3 separate regions of the Homo sapiens genome follow, and all the other regions are linked to region 3. Evidence: promoter capture Hi-C in human tissues and cell types (Jung and others, 2019). All regions are on one chromosome and are shown on one strand. The core of a region is centred on a gene start or on the middle of the fragment in contact, and the rest is flanking DNA. Distances in the headings are between cores, read along the strand shown. Region 1 overlaps LOC107984685 (a long non-coding RNA gene). Region 2 overlaps LINC02326 (long intergenic non-protein coding RNA 2326). Region 3 holds the start of FOXG1 (forkhead box G1).

Region 1 (3,605 bases), core at 803-3,302, 310 kb after region 3:
CCCAACATGCATAAGTGATGTTGTATCCTTTTCAGGTTTTCTCACGGAGAGATACACAATATATATTTGCTCCACTCAAGATTGTCTGATTCTCCAACATTATAGTTATTAGTTTTTCCTTGCTACTAAACAATGTGGGGACACATTTTAAGATAATGCAAGTACCTGTCTCCTCATCAAAATTCAGAAAAAAAAAAATGGCCTGGTGCAGTGGCTCACACCTGTAATCTCAGCTTTTTGGGAGGCCAAGGTGTTGGATCACTTCAGGCAAGGAGTTCGACTGGCCAACATGGTGAATCTCTGTCTCTACTGAAAATACAAAAAATTAGCTGGACATGGTGGTGCGTACCTGTAGTCCCAGCTACTTGGGAAGCTGAGGCATAAGAATCCCTTGATCCCATGAGGCGTAGGTTGAAGTGAGCCGAGAGTCGGCCACTGCACTCCAGCCTGGGCAGCGGAGTAATACTCTGTCTCAGGAAAAAAAAAAAAAAAAATCCACGCCCTCTAAATTTAGCATCAGTTGATGTTTCCTGCCTGAAATAATCTTTGGAGTGATATTTGCAAGGTAATAATTTTACAGCTCTAGCACTCCCTTTATATTTATGAATCAGCACTCAACATTCTACTATAAACAAGAGTCTTTCTTTTGTCTTTTATGTTTATTTATGATTGCATGATATATATTTTTAAAGGATAACTTTGCCGCTCAGAGTATGTTTTAAATGGGGCAAGAGTAGAAGGAAGAGAGATCAATTATCTGGCTATGATAAAAAGTTTAAGAAAGAGATAATAATATCTCCAATAAGAATGGCAGCAAATCAGATGGGGATAAATGGGTCAATTTGAGATATGTTTGGACTTCAAGTAAATAAGATTTGTTTAGATATATAGGATGAGAGATAGGTTTCATTCCTGAACAACTAGATAGAGTTGCCATTGCAGGAAGATAGGAGAAAAGCAGGGTTTGGCAAAGAGAAGATTGATTTCAGGTCTGCCAAATTTAAAACAGTTATCATACACTGAAATGGAGAGGTTAAGTAGGCAGTCACATAAACTAGTTTGTAATTTAAGGTTTTGTCTATACTGGAGATATATATTTAAGAGCCAAGATCCTATCGATGATATCTAATTATTAATGATAAGAAGGTCTAGGATAGACCCTGAGCAGGGTAGAGAGAGAGTCAGCAAAGAAGTCTTAGAAGAGCATCCAATAAGGCAGAGGAAACTAGTAGAGTACTTTCTTATGGAAGTGCAAAAAGGAGAATGTTTCAGATTCAAGCCAACTGGGTGAAATATATTGAGTTCTGCTGACAGCTGTTGAAATATTCAGTTGGCTACATAGATATGCCCACTTGGATGTATCACAAGTATCTCCAGAAAGTTTGAGTTATCTTAGTCTTTTCTACATCCACCTTTAATCTATCATAAAACTCCTTTTGACTCTACTTTCAAAACATATACTGAATAAAACATCTCACCACTTCTGCTACCCTTTCCATCTAAGCTATTGCTATTACTCAAGTAATTGCACAGCTTCATAGTCTCCATCTTTACATCTTATGTCCCTTTGGTTAATGTTGAACATTGAATGATCCAGTTAAAATATAACTCATCTTATACCACTTATCAGTTCTCACTCAGGACAAAAGCCAATGTACTTACAATGACCTAGAATACATGAGCTGGCACATGCCACACTACTTCACTGACATCATTTCCTGCAACTTTACCTCCCATTATCTTTTCTCCAGCCACAATGGCTGTCCTAGGACATGCTAGGCAACATCTCACCTCAAAGCTTTTTAGGAAATCTTTCATATGGATGGCAAATAAACACATAAAAAGATGTTTGACATTACTAGCCATTAAGGAATTGCAAATTGAATCACAACGAGACAACACTATACAGCTATCAGAATGGTTAAACAAACTGTAATGGCAATACGAAATGCTGGCAAGGTTGCAAAGAAACTTGATCACTCATACATTGCTGATGGGAATGTAAAATGGTACAGACATTCTGCAAAACAGTTGGGCAGGGTTTTATTTTTATAAAATTAAACATGCAATCCAGCAGTTGCTCTCTTGAGCACTTTCTCCCAGAGAAATAGAAACTTATGTTCAAGTAAGAACCAGTATACAAATGTTTATAGCAGCTTTATTCACAGTAGTTAAAAACTGGAAACAACGCAAATCTCTTTCAATGGAGTGAATGTTTAAACAAACTGTGGTACATCCAGATCAAAGAATATTACTCAGAAATAAAAATGAACAAGCTATTGATAAATGCAACAACTTCAATGAACTTTAAAAGGATTATGATGAATGAAAAATGCCAATCCCAGAAGGTAATATATTGTATAATTCTACTCATTTAACATTCTTGAATGGCAAAATTATAAAGATAGAGAGCAGATTAGTCATGGTCAGAGGTTAAGAATGGGAAAGATGGCAGAAGGGGGGTGGATGTGATTATAAAAAGGAAGCACAACAGATCCTTGTGGCAATGGCACTGTTTTGCATATTTAATATGATGGCATTTACACAAACATACATATCTGTTAAAATTGCATACAGCTAATTAAACACATGCACATACATGTGTATAAAATTGGGAAAATATGAAAAAGATCAGTGGATTATATTGTGTGTGTGTGCGTGTGTGGTTTTTTTTTTTTTTTTTACTTGTGACATTGTTCCTTATTTTCACAAGAGGTTATCAGGGATTGAAATTGAAATTGAATGAAGAGTACACAGGATCTTTCCATATGATTTCTTAGAACTTCATGTGAATCTATACTTATCTCAACATTTTAAAAAGGGTTAATTCGAAACCTTTATTTTCTGTTTTTTTTTTCTGTGTAGTATTCTAATGTATGCATATATCTCAATTATAAATTTGAATTGTGATATACGTTTGCTTTTTCTTCCACTTTTGACTAATATGAATAATGTTTTTAATAAATAATCTATACATATATTTTAATGTACATCAGGATATCTCAGCCTTGACACTATTGCCATTTTGGTCTAAAAATTCTCTTTTGTTGGGAGTCTCTACTGTATGTTGTAAGATGTCTAGCAGCATTACTGGTGTCTACCAATTAAATGCCAGTAGCACCTCCTCTCCAAATTTTGAAAGTCAAATATGTCTCTAGATGTTACCAGATACATTTTGGGGACAAAATCACTCCTGACTGAGCACCACTGATTTACATAGCTGTACACTTTTCAACGGCGTAAAAGTGGAGTGGAATTGCTCTTAATCATTACCTTTAAATCAAGATAGAGAATGTGATTTGTTTTTCCAAAATTATTTCACCCATTTGTATGCCCATCACCCATTTGTATAAAAATTACCATTTTTTGTATCCTTGTCAGCATTAGGTATTATCAGACTTTTAAATTTTATCCATTCTGTTATACTGGCAGTGAAATCTCATTATCAATTTAATTTGCATTCTTTCATTATTAATGAAGTTGTCCATCTTTTTAAAAGTATCTTTATTGGTCACTTGAATCTACTCTTTCATAGTGTCTGCAGATCTTTTGACTGTGCTTCCATGGGTTTAAATATTTATAACTTTTGTTGCAGTTTTGTAAAA
Region 2 (3,804 bases), core at 1,101-3,600, 270 kb after region 3:
AGATTTGAATGTCACCTACCCTTTGAAGTATTGAACTATTGTTTCTACGTGATGCTTAGGCAATTGAATTGGGCCAGTCATATCACAAAGAGGTCTTTAATCCGTAAGAGGGTCCCCCTCCTTGTTTGTTTTGCTCAGAATAATTGAATTGGAGAGTTTGGCTCTGTCAGAGAAGTAGCCACAAGCCTGATTCTTTTGCAATGACCTGCAGATAATTCCAGAAAAAAATTGAACCATCTACCAGGAAAAGCTATGGCCATAACTTAAAAATCACATTTCTCTTCCTTGTTGAAAATACCCAGATCTCAAGATGATCTTATAACTACATCTGAAAGGCTGTTGAGCCCCCATCCTCATCAGAGTTCATCTCTTCCAATGCATGCACATGTGCAGTCCATCTGCCAGGCATGAAGTAAATATAAAATTGACCTTCTTCAGAAAAGAAGGAAGACCCAGGTTTGAATTATTTTCTTCATGTTTACATAAACTTTTGAAAGGCAAGATGATTAAATAGCACTTCCTGGATAGGATAGAGATATATGTTTGTAGTTTCCATTGGTTAGCTAGTATACATAAATATCATTCTTAAAAAGAAATCAAATTCTAACGCATTCATGAATATCATGCCCATTTCCATATGACAGAAAGCTTTCAGCAGAGTTGCATCATCCAAATGATTCAGCTCCTTACAAATTAATGATTTGCACATACAGGTGTTTGGATAAAATACAAATTTCCAGAAGGTTTCCATTATGCAAGAGTACCAATATTAAAAATGCTCTGTAGAAATTAGGAAAACAAACACGCTCATTGCTAGAAATTAAACTCTGAACCCTATTGTAATTGTATTAATCATGAAATTTACCACATTATTTTTGTAAATAAATTGATTCAGATGAATACTTAAAATTTCATCAATAATTTTAGAATATATTTAAATAAGTAATCACTCTTTATATTACAGCTTTTCTTTTGCAAGCGAGATACACACTATCACTTAGTGTTCATATTTAAGTTAATGTTTATTTACAAATTACAAGTGACTGTCACAAGTAGAGTTTTATTAAATGAGTCTTGTAATGGAAAGGATTTGAATTAAAGCATGTACTGTACTTCTTTATATAGTTTTTTCTTCATTTGCAACAACAAGCCTAGAAATTAACATAATTTATTTTTAAGAAATTGATGTTCTTCTGCAGAATAATAACCATTCTCATTTTGACCTATTGAACTAGCTTTCTATTTACAAAAAATAATTAAATGTTGGTCAGAATGTGGCATCTTCTGAGGTTTTCTAATCACCAGCATTATCAGTCCAGGCCATTTCTTTGCCAACCCTACATTAATATACTTAACTAATGAGTTATGAACCTTTAAGAGCCTTCTCCTTCTGCACTAAACTTTCCTAAGAATTACTCCAAATGCTTTCTCATCTTTTCATCTGTGTACCTTTTTCTTGTTCTATCTCAATCTTTTGTTTTTTATTTATTTATTTTTTTGGTTGCTCAAGGGAACTATCTGGCATTTTAAAAAATTCAAATTAATGATAAAAATTATATCAATTTTTATCCCACCAAGTTTATGGAGGTATGCCCACTTTATTTACATTAATTAGAAATCTTCAGTTTTAATTGTAATTTTTAATAGGAAAATGTTCTTTCCTGCTAAATGTTCTACAAAATTTCACGTCATCTTTAACAGCATTGAAGCACAGAATGTAAAAATGGAAAGAACAGAAGATATCAAATTTAACCCTGCTTATTTATATATGTGTCAACTGAGGCCCAGAGAAATGAAGAACTATGCATAAAGTCAAACAGCTAATTAGTATTAGACTGGTATGCTATACAAATATAGATTTAAAAAAGTATTTCTTATATTGTTAGCCATTAAAGTCATTTGTATATATACAGGCATATGTGCATATAATTGTTTCATTAACTTTGCCAATCAAAAATGACTATTGTCTCTATGTGATATTGTATCCTGAATGTATCCTGGAACAGAAAGAGGCAATTAATGGAAAAAGTGGTGAAATTTGAATGAAATCTGGTGGTTAGTTAATAGTTATGCATCAAGGTTCATTTCTTAGTTTTGGCAACTATACTATGGTAATGTAAGGTGTTAACATTTGGGAAAAGTGGGTTAAAATATACAGGAACTCTTTGTAATATTTTGCAATTTCTCTGGAAAGCTAAAATTATTTCAAAGTAAAAATTATATTAAAATACTCACTTATAATTCAGGATTATACATAAGGCCATTTACTTTAGATACCTAAAAAAAGAAAAAGATTCAGATTCTCTTTATGCACAAACTACCCTTTCATTGTAAGCTGCAATTCTGTTATGTGCCTTACAGATAGCATAAGTTGAGTTCCTCAGGAAAAAGACTCAGAACAGAGATCTATCTGCAGGAGGATTACTGGGGAGAGCTCTTGGGAATAACATATACTAGGTAGAAAGGAAAATAGAGTTTGCCAAGGGAAGAGTTAAAATGTAGTAAAGGTGTAACAGAGGCCCCAACACATCTGATGGGGATAGCAGTTCAAAGATGTTCCAAACAGAGGCAAAAAGAGGCAAGGCCTTTGTACCCACCATGCCCACAAGTCTTTGGGAGTAGGCTATCCCAGGGAAGGGGCAGACTTTGAACAGGCAGCTCTCTTCAGTCGAGGGCAAATCCTGGGGAGAGACTCAGCTGTGAGCTCTCAGCAGCAACTCTCCTGCAGCTGGAGGAGTGAGCACCTTAGTTTTAAAGAAGGGATTTATCTATTGTGCCACAGCATCCACTGAAGTGAAGGTAACTCTTGAGCACAATGATTGGTCATAGGATGAATTTAAAATTAGACAAATGTGGCAGTTTCACTAGGCACAGGTAGTCAAAGTTACATGAGTTTTACTGAAATTTTTCTTGTTCCAAGAAGTTTTCCTCTTGAATTTTTCTTCATGTTTGTACCTGTAATTATCTATATATTTCATAACATCTATTCCAAGATGTTAATTATTTGGGTTGAAAAGGAAACAGAAAAGGATTTTTTTTAAGTGTACTTTTTTGGTTATTTAAAGGATGTGATTTTAGATGTGGGAAATATACACAGGAAGTCCACTGAGTTTGCTTATCTGAATGTATAATAAATTCTTACACCACCCCTATCTTCCACATTTGTCTAAGTGAAATTCATCTTCATTTTCATTAAGCATGGCTAAGTTATGTTGTAACAAATCAACCCCAATATCTCGGTGCCTTACCACATCCAACCTTACATGTCTAATAAGAGCTAGCAATGGTGCACAGAGGGCCCTATTATCTTGTAGTCCTGGTCTGGAACAGAGAGACTGTAAAACCACTGGAGGAGAGGCAGGGAGAAATGGAGGCAACACGTCTCTGAAACCAGAAGTGACTCTTCTGCTCATAGTCTAGTGTCTAAAACATGTCACATAGTTTCAACCTAACTGCAGGGGAAGCTAGGAAATGTAAAGGAATACATGGAGAACCAACAGACTCTGTCAAAACTGGCTAGTGAACCTTCTGGAATATTCTCATAGATCGCTCCAACCCAGCAAAGACAAGACATAATTCGTATTTCAATCTTCTTTATTTCAATACTGGCTAGAGTCTTAGCCATCACAGAAGCTTCTCTGAGCAGAAGAATAAGGTCAATCTTTGTGCCATATATATTTTTATATTAGCTATATTGGTTAGTGAAGCAACAACTTGAACATTCAGACTGTTAACATTTTTAAGGACACACATAAAAATGCTTTGGTGAGTTACATAATTATGGGAAGACAGAAATTTCATTTT
Region 3 (3,697 bases), core at 1,198-3,697:
ACTACGAAAACGTACCGGGCCGTCCACCTCAGAGGGAGCCCTGTGTGCCATTATAAGTGGTGGTGAGAAGGGGGGCTGTAAGAGGAGAAATTGGGAGGAGTAGGTGGAGGAATGGAGAGACAGAGGAATGGAGGGTGGGGGGAAGGGGCGGGGGGAGCTAAGGGAGAAGGAGGGAGGAGGGAGGAAGGAGAGTTGAGGAAAAGTAGGAAGAACGGGCCTGAAGAGGGGAGAAGAGTGGGAGGAGGAAAAGTGAGTAGGAAGGGGAAGGCCCACAAATCTCTCCAGCCGGTAGGCAAAGCCCATTAGCTCACCCGGCCCTGCGAGAAATCCAGAGCTTGGAAATAAATGTTTGGGACCATGTCACTATCAACACTGATTGTTGGAACCCTTGAATTTTTCCACATGTAAATACAGTTTGTTTTAAAGTGAGAAGATATGTAGACATAGGTAAAGATACATACATACAGTGGAAGGACATTTGAGGTTAGTCCAATATTCAAAGCTCCTTTGTGGCATTCCTAATAGATGCATATTTAAAATTCACTAGCTATTTGTAATTATCTATTATTCTCTCCAGTTTCCTCCCCCCCCCCCAACCTTTTCTCTCTTTCTCTTTCTTAAGACTGGGGGTGGGGAGGATGGAATAACCCCCTATTATCCTGAGTATTCATCAACCGCATTCTTTATGTTACAATTTAACTTTAGGATCAAGCATAAGCACCAATTTTCCTTCCTTCGTTTTCTTAAATACCAAATCTGCCAGATATCTTAATGAAAGTTTATCCAAGTGAAGAAATGCTTACATTTTATAATTATTTACCTTCTAGAGGAAGGAAAAGGTGCCTTTCATTTATGCTTCTCCACCTCCCTCTTCTCTGGGGCTACATCCTCCGTAAAATGTGGTATGTTTCGTGCCCATGTGGGATGAAACAGCCTTTGATCAATGTGCTCCCCACTAAATTCCAATCCCTGGGAAATGCTGGGCCTTAGCCCTGCCCCTGGCCACGGGATCCTTTTAAAGCCCCCGATTCGCAATTTCCCCATTCACTTCAACCTCCAACCGAACCTTCCCAGTTCCAAAGCCCAAGAAGCTGGGACTGTGAGATCCACGTTCCCAAGGCTCCCCGGTGCTTTCCAGCAGCACTCAGGGTTGGCAAGAGCTGGCTTCAGTATACTGTTATTTCAGGAATGAGGCCCGCACAAAATAAAAGCATTTGAGAAACGGAAAGGAAAAAAAAGGAGTGAAAATAGGAAGGCTTAAAAAAAAAACCGGAAAGAAATAGACGCCCACCCTTATTTTCCCTCCAATGTCAACAAGCAAAACGAAAATATTTCCAGGGTGATCGCTCGCAGCTACCCGCTTCCAATTCGGATTAGAAGCTGAGGCTGGAGCGGCGAGGAGAAAACGACATCGAGTCACCCCGCGCGTGAGCGACGCTCTGGAGCAGGAGAGAAGGAAAAGGAAGAGACACACGTATATAGCATGTGTTACCTGATTTATTTCGAGATTGTTTGGTACTGTTTTCTCTCTGGGCACCTCTCATTTCGGAAGGCCATCAGAGGCGCCCACTACTGAGCGGCCCCGGCCGCCGCAGCAGCACCCGGAGCCCCAGTCCCGGTTTCCCCGCGGTGCCGGAGCCCGGAGCTCGCCGCCGCCCAGGCCTCAGGAATCGAGTAAGTAACCCCTGTTTGGCCCCGCGCTCCTCTGCCCACTTCCTCCTCCTCATCTCATCGCTCCCAAAGCTCTCCCACACCCTCCTCCCCCGAAGTAAAGGACACCCCCGCACACACGCCAGCGGTGGGCCTTATCTCCCCCCTTATCCAAAGCTGCGCTAGACTATTACCTACAAAGGGCACAATTTTCCTGCTGGCTCAGAAATGCCAGACACTGGCCTGCAAGGCCGACTCGGAAAAGTAGTGCCTCGCCTCTACCTCCTCCATTTCCTGCCCTCTCGCATCCTCTCCCTGCACTCCCACTCTTCCCACTACCACCACCACCCCCGCTTTCAAAAATAAAATTGGATACAAACTTTAATCACTAAGGACAAATATTGACGCTTAAACGAAAATGACCCAGTACAATGAGGAGGAAGCCGGAAATGTGAGCTATTGGCCCTAGGAGGGGAATTTCGGTGGAGCGGAGCCGGCGGGGTGGAGGGGGTGGCGGGGGCGCAGGGAAGGGCTGCGGCACCGCGTGCTCCCGCCGGCGTATCCCTACGCGGCTCCGCGCGGCCTCGGGGTCCGAGGCCCGCGGAGAGGGGGAGGCGAGCGCCCGAGGGGGCGGCAGCCGGCGGGCGGGGCGGGGGTGGGTGGGCCCGGCCCCTCCGATTGGTCGACGGCGAGAGAGACGCTCCCGCACGCCGCCAGCTCTGATTGGCCCAGCGGTAGGAAAGGTTAAACCAAAAATTTTTTTACAGCCCTAGTGTGCGCCTGTAGCTCGGAAAATTAATTGTGGCTATAGCCGCCTCGATCGCTGTCTCCCCAGCCTCGCCGCGGCCGCTCCGGGACGCGCCCGCCCGCCGCCCGGCTCTCCCCCCCTTTGGGCTGCTGCTGCTGCTGCTGTGACTGCTGCTGCGAGAGGAGGAGGAGGAGGAGGAAGCAGCGGGGGGGGGAGCGGGGGGTGGGGGGGGAGACCAAGAAGTACAGTTGGGAGCGAGGGAGCTTCACCCCCGGGGCGGTGGTTGTTTCTTTTTTCTTTCTTTCTTTTTTCTTTTCCTTTTTTTTTTTTTTTCTAATTCCTGAGGGGTGGTTGCTGCTTTTGCTACATGACTTGCCAGCGCCCGAGCCTGCGGTCCAACTGCGCTGCTGCCGGAGCGCTCAGTGCCGCCGCTGCCGCCCGCGCCCCCCGCGCCCCGTTCGGCACCCACCGGTCGCCGCCGCCCGCCGCGCCGCTGTCCCGCTCCCGCGCCGCCGCCGCCGTTTCCCCCCGACGACTGGGTGATGCTGGACATGGGAGATAGGAAAGAGGTGAAAATGATCCCCAAGTCCTCGTTCAGCATCAACAGCCTGGTGCCCGAGGCGGTCCAGAACGACAACCACCACGCGAGCCACGGCCACCACAACAGCCACCACCCCCAGCACCACCACCACCACCACCACCATCACCACCACCCGCCGCCGCCCGCCCCGCAACCGCCGCCGCCGCCGCAGCAGCAGCAGCCGCCGCCGCCGCCGCCCCCGGCACCGCAGCCCCCCCAGACGCGGGGCGCCCCGGCCGCCGACGACGACAAGGGCCCCCAGCAGCTGCTGCTCCCGCCGCCGCCACCGCCACCACCGGCCGCCGCCCTGGACGGGGCTAAAGCGGACGGGCTGGGCGGCAAGGGCGAGCCGGGCGGCGGGCCGGGGGAGCTGGCGCCCGTCGGGCCGGACGAGAAGGAGAAGGGCGCCGGCGCCGGGGGGGAGGAGAAGAAGGGGGCGGGCGAGGGCGGCAAGGACGGGGAGGGGGGCAAGGAGGGCGAGAAGAAGAACGGCAAGTACGAGAAGCCGCCGTTCAGCTACAACGCGCTCATCATGATGGCCATCCGGCAGAGCCCCGAGAAGCGGCTCACGCTCAACGGCATCTACGAGTTCATCATGAAGAACTTCCCTTACTACCGCGAGAACAAGCAGGGCTGGCAGAACTCCATCCGCCACAATCTGTCCCTCAACAAGTGCTTCGTGAAGGTGCCGCGCCACTACGACGACCCGGGCAAGGGCA

Evidence for each region. Contacts are between HindIII fragments. The study calls those that stand out against the background at their distance.
Region 1: a contact is called between a fragment that was not itself captured here and the fragment with the promoter of FOXG1 in region 3, in 2 of the 25 tissues and cell types used here (mesendoderm cells and thymus).
Region 2: a fragment that was not itself captured here is called in contact with the fragment with the promoter of FOXG1 in region 3 in 4 of the 25 tissues and cell types used here (IMR-90 fibroblasts, dorsolateral prefrontal cortex, lymphoblastoid cells and 1 more).

Annotation. Positions count from the first base shown.
Region 1 is chr14:29,074,278-29,077,882 of GRCh38, forward strand. The region is part of intron 8 of LOC107984685 (a long non-coding RNA gene); the gene reads left to right. Among named protein-coding and RNA genes, the nearest start is that of LINC02326, 11 kb to the left of the region's middle. The HindIII fragment of the contact is 7,574 bases long and covers 1-3,605 here.
Region 2 is chr14:29,030,501-29,034,304 of GRCh38, forward strand. All of the region lies in intron 2 of LINC02326 (long intergenic non-protein coding RNA 2326), which reads right to left. All of the region lies in intron 5 of LOC107984685 (a long non-coding RNA gene), which reads left to right. Among named protein-coding and RNA genes, the nearest start is that of LINC02326, 33 kb to the right of the region's middle. The HindIII fragment of the contact is 5,798 bases long and covers 1-3,804 here.
Region 3 is chr14:28,764,340-28,768,036 of GRCh38, forward strand. It overlaps FOXG1 (forkhead box G1), which reads left to right and starts at 2,448. Exons shown (of 1, transcript NM_005249.5): 1 at 2,448-3,697. The coding sequence starts at 2,941. FOXG1-AS1 (FOXG1 antisense RNA 1) reads right to left here and starts at 980. Exons shown (of 7, transcript NR_125758.1): 1 at 821-980. RefSeq lists an enhancer at 1,579-2,103. The HindIII fragment of the contact is 7,501 bases long and covers 1,897-3,697 here.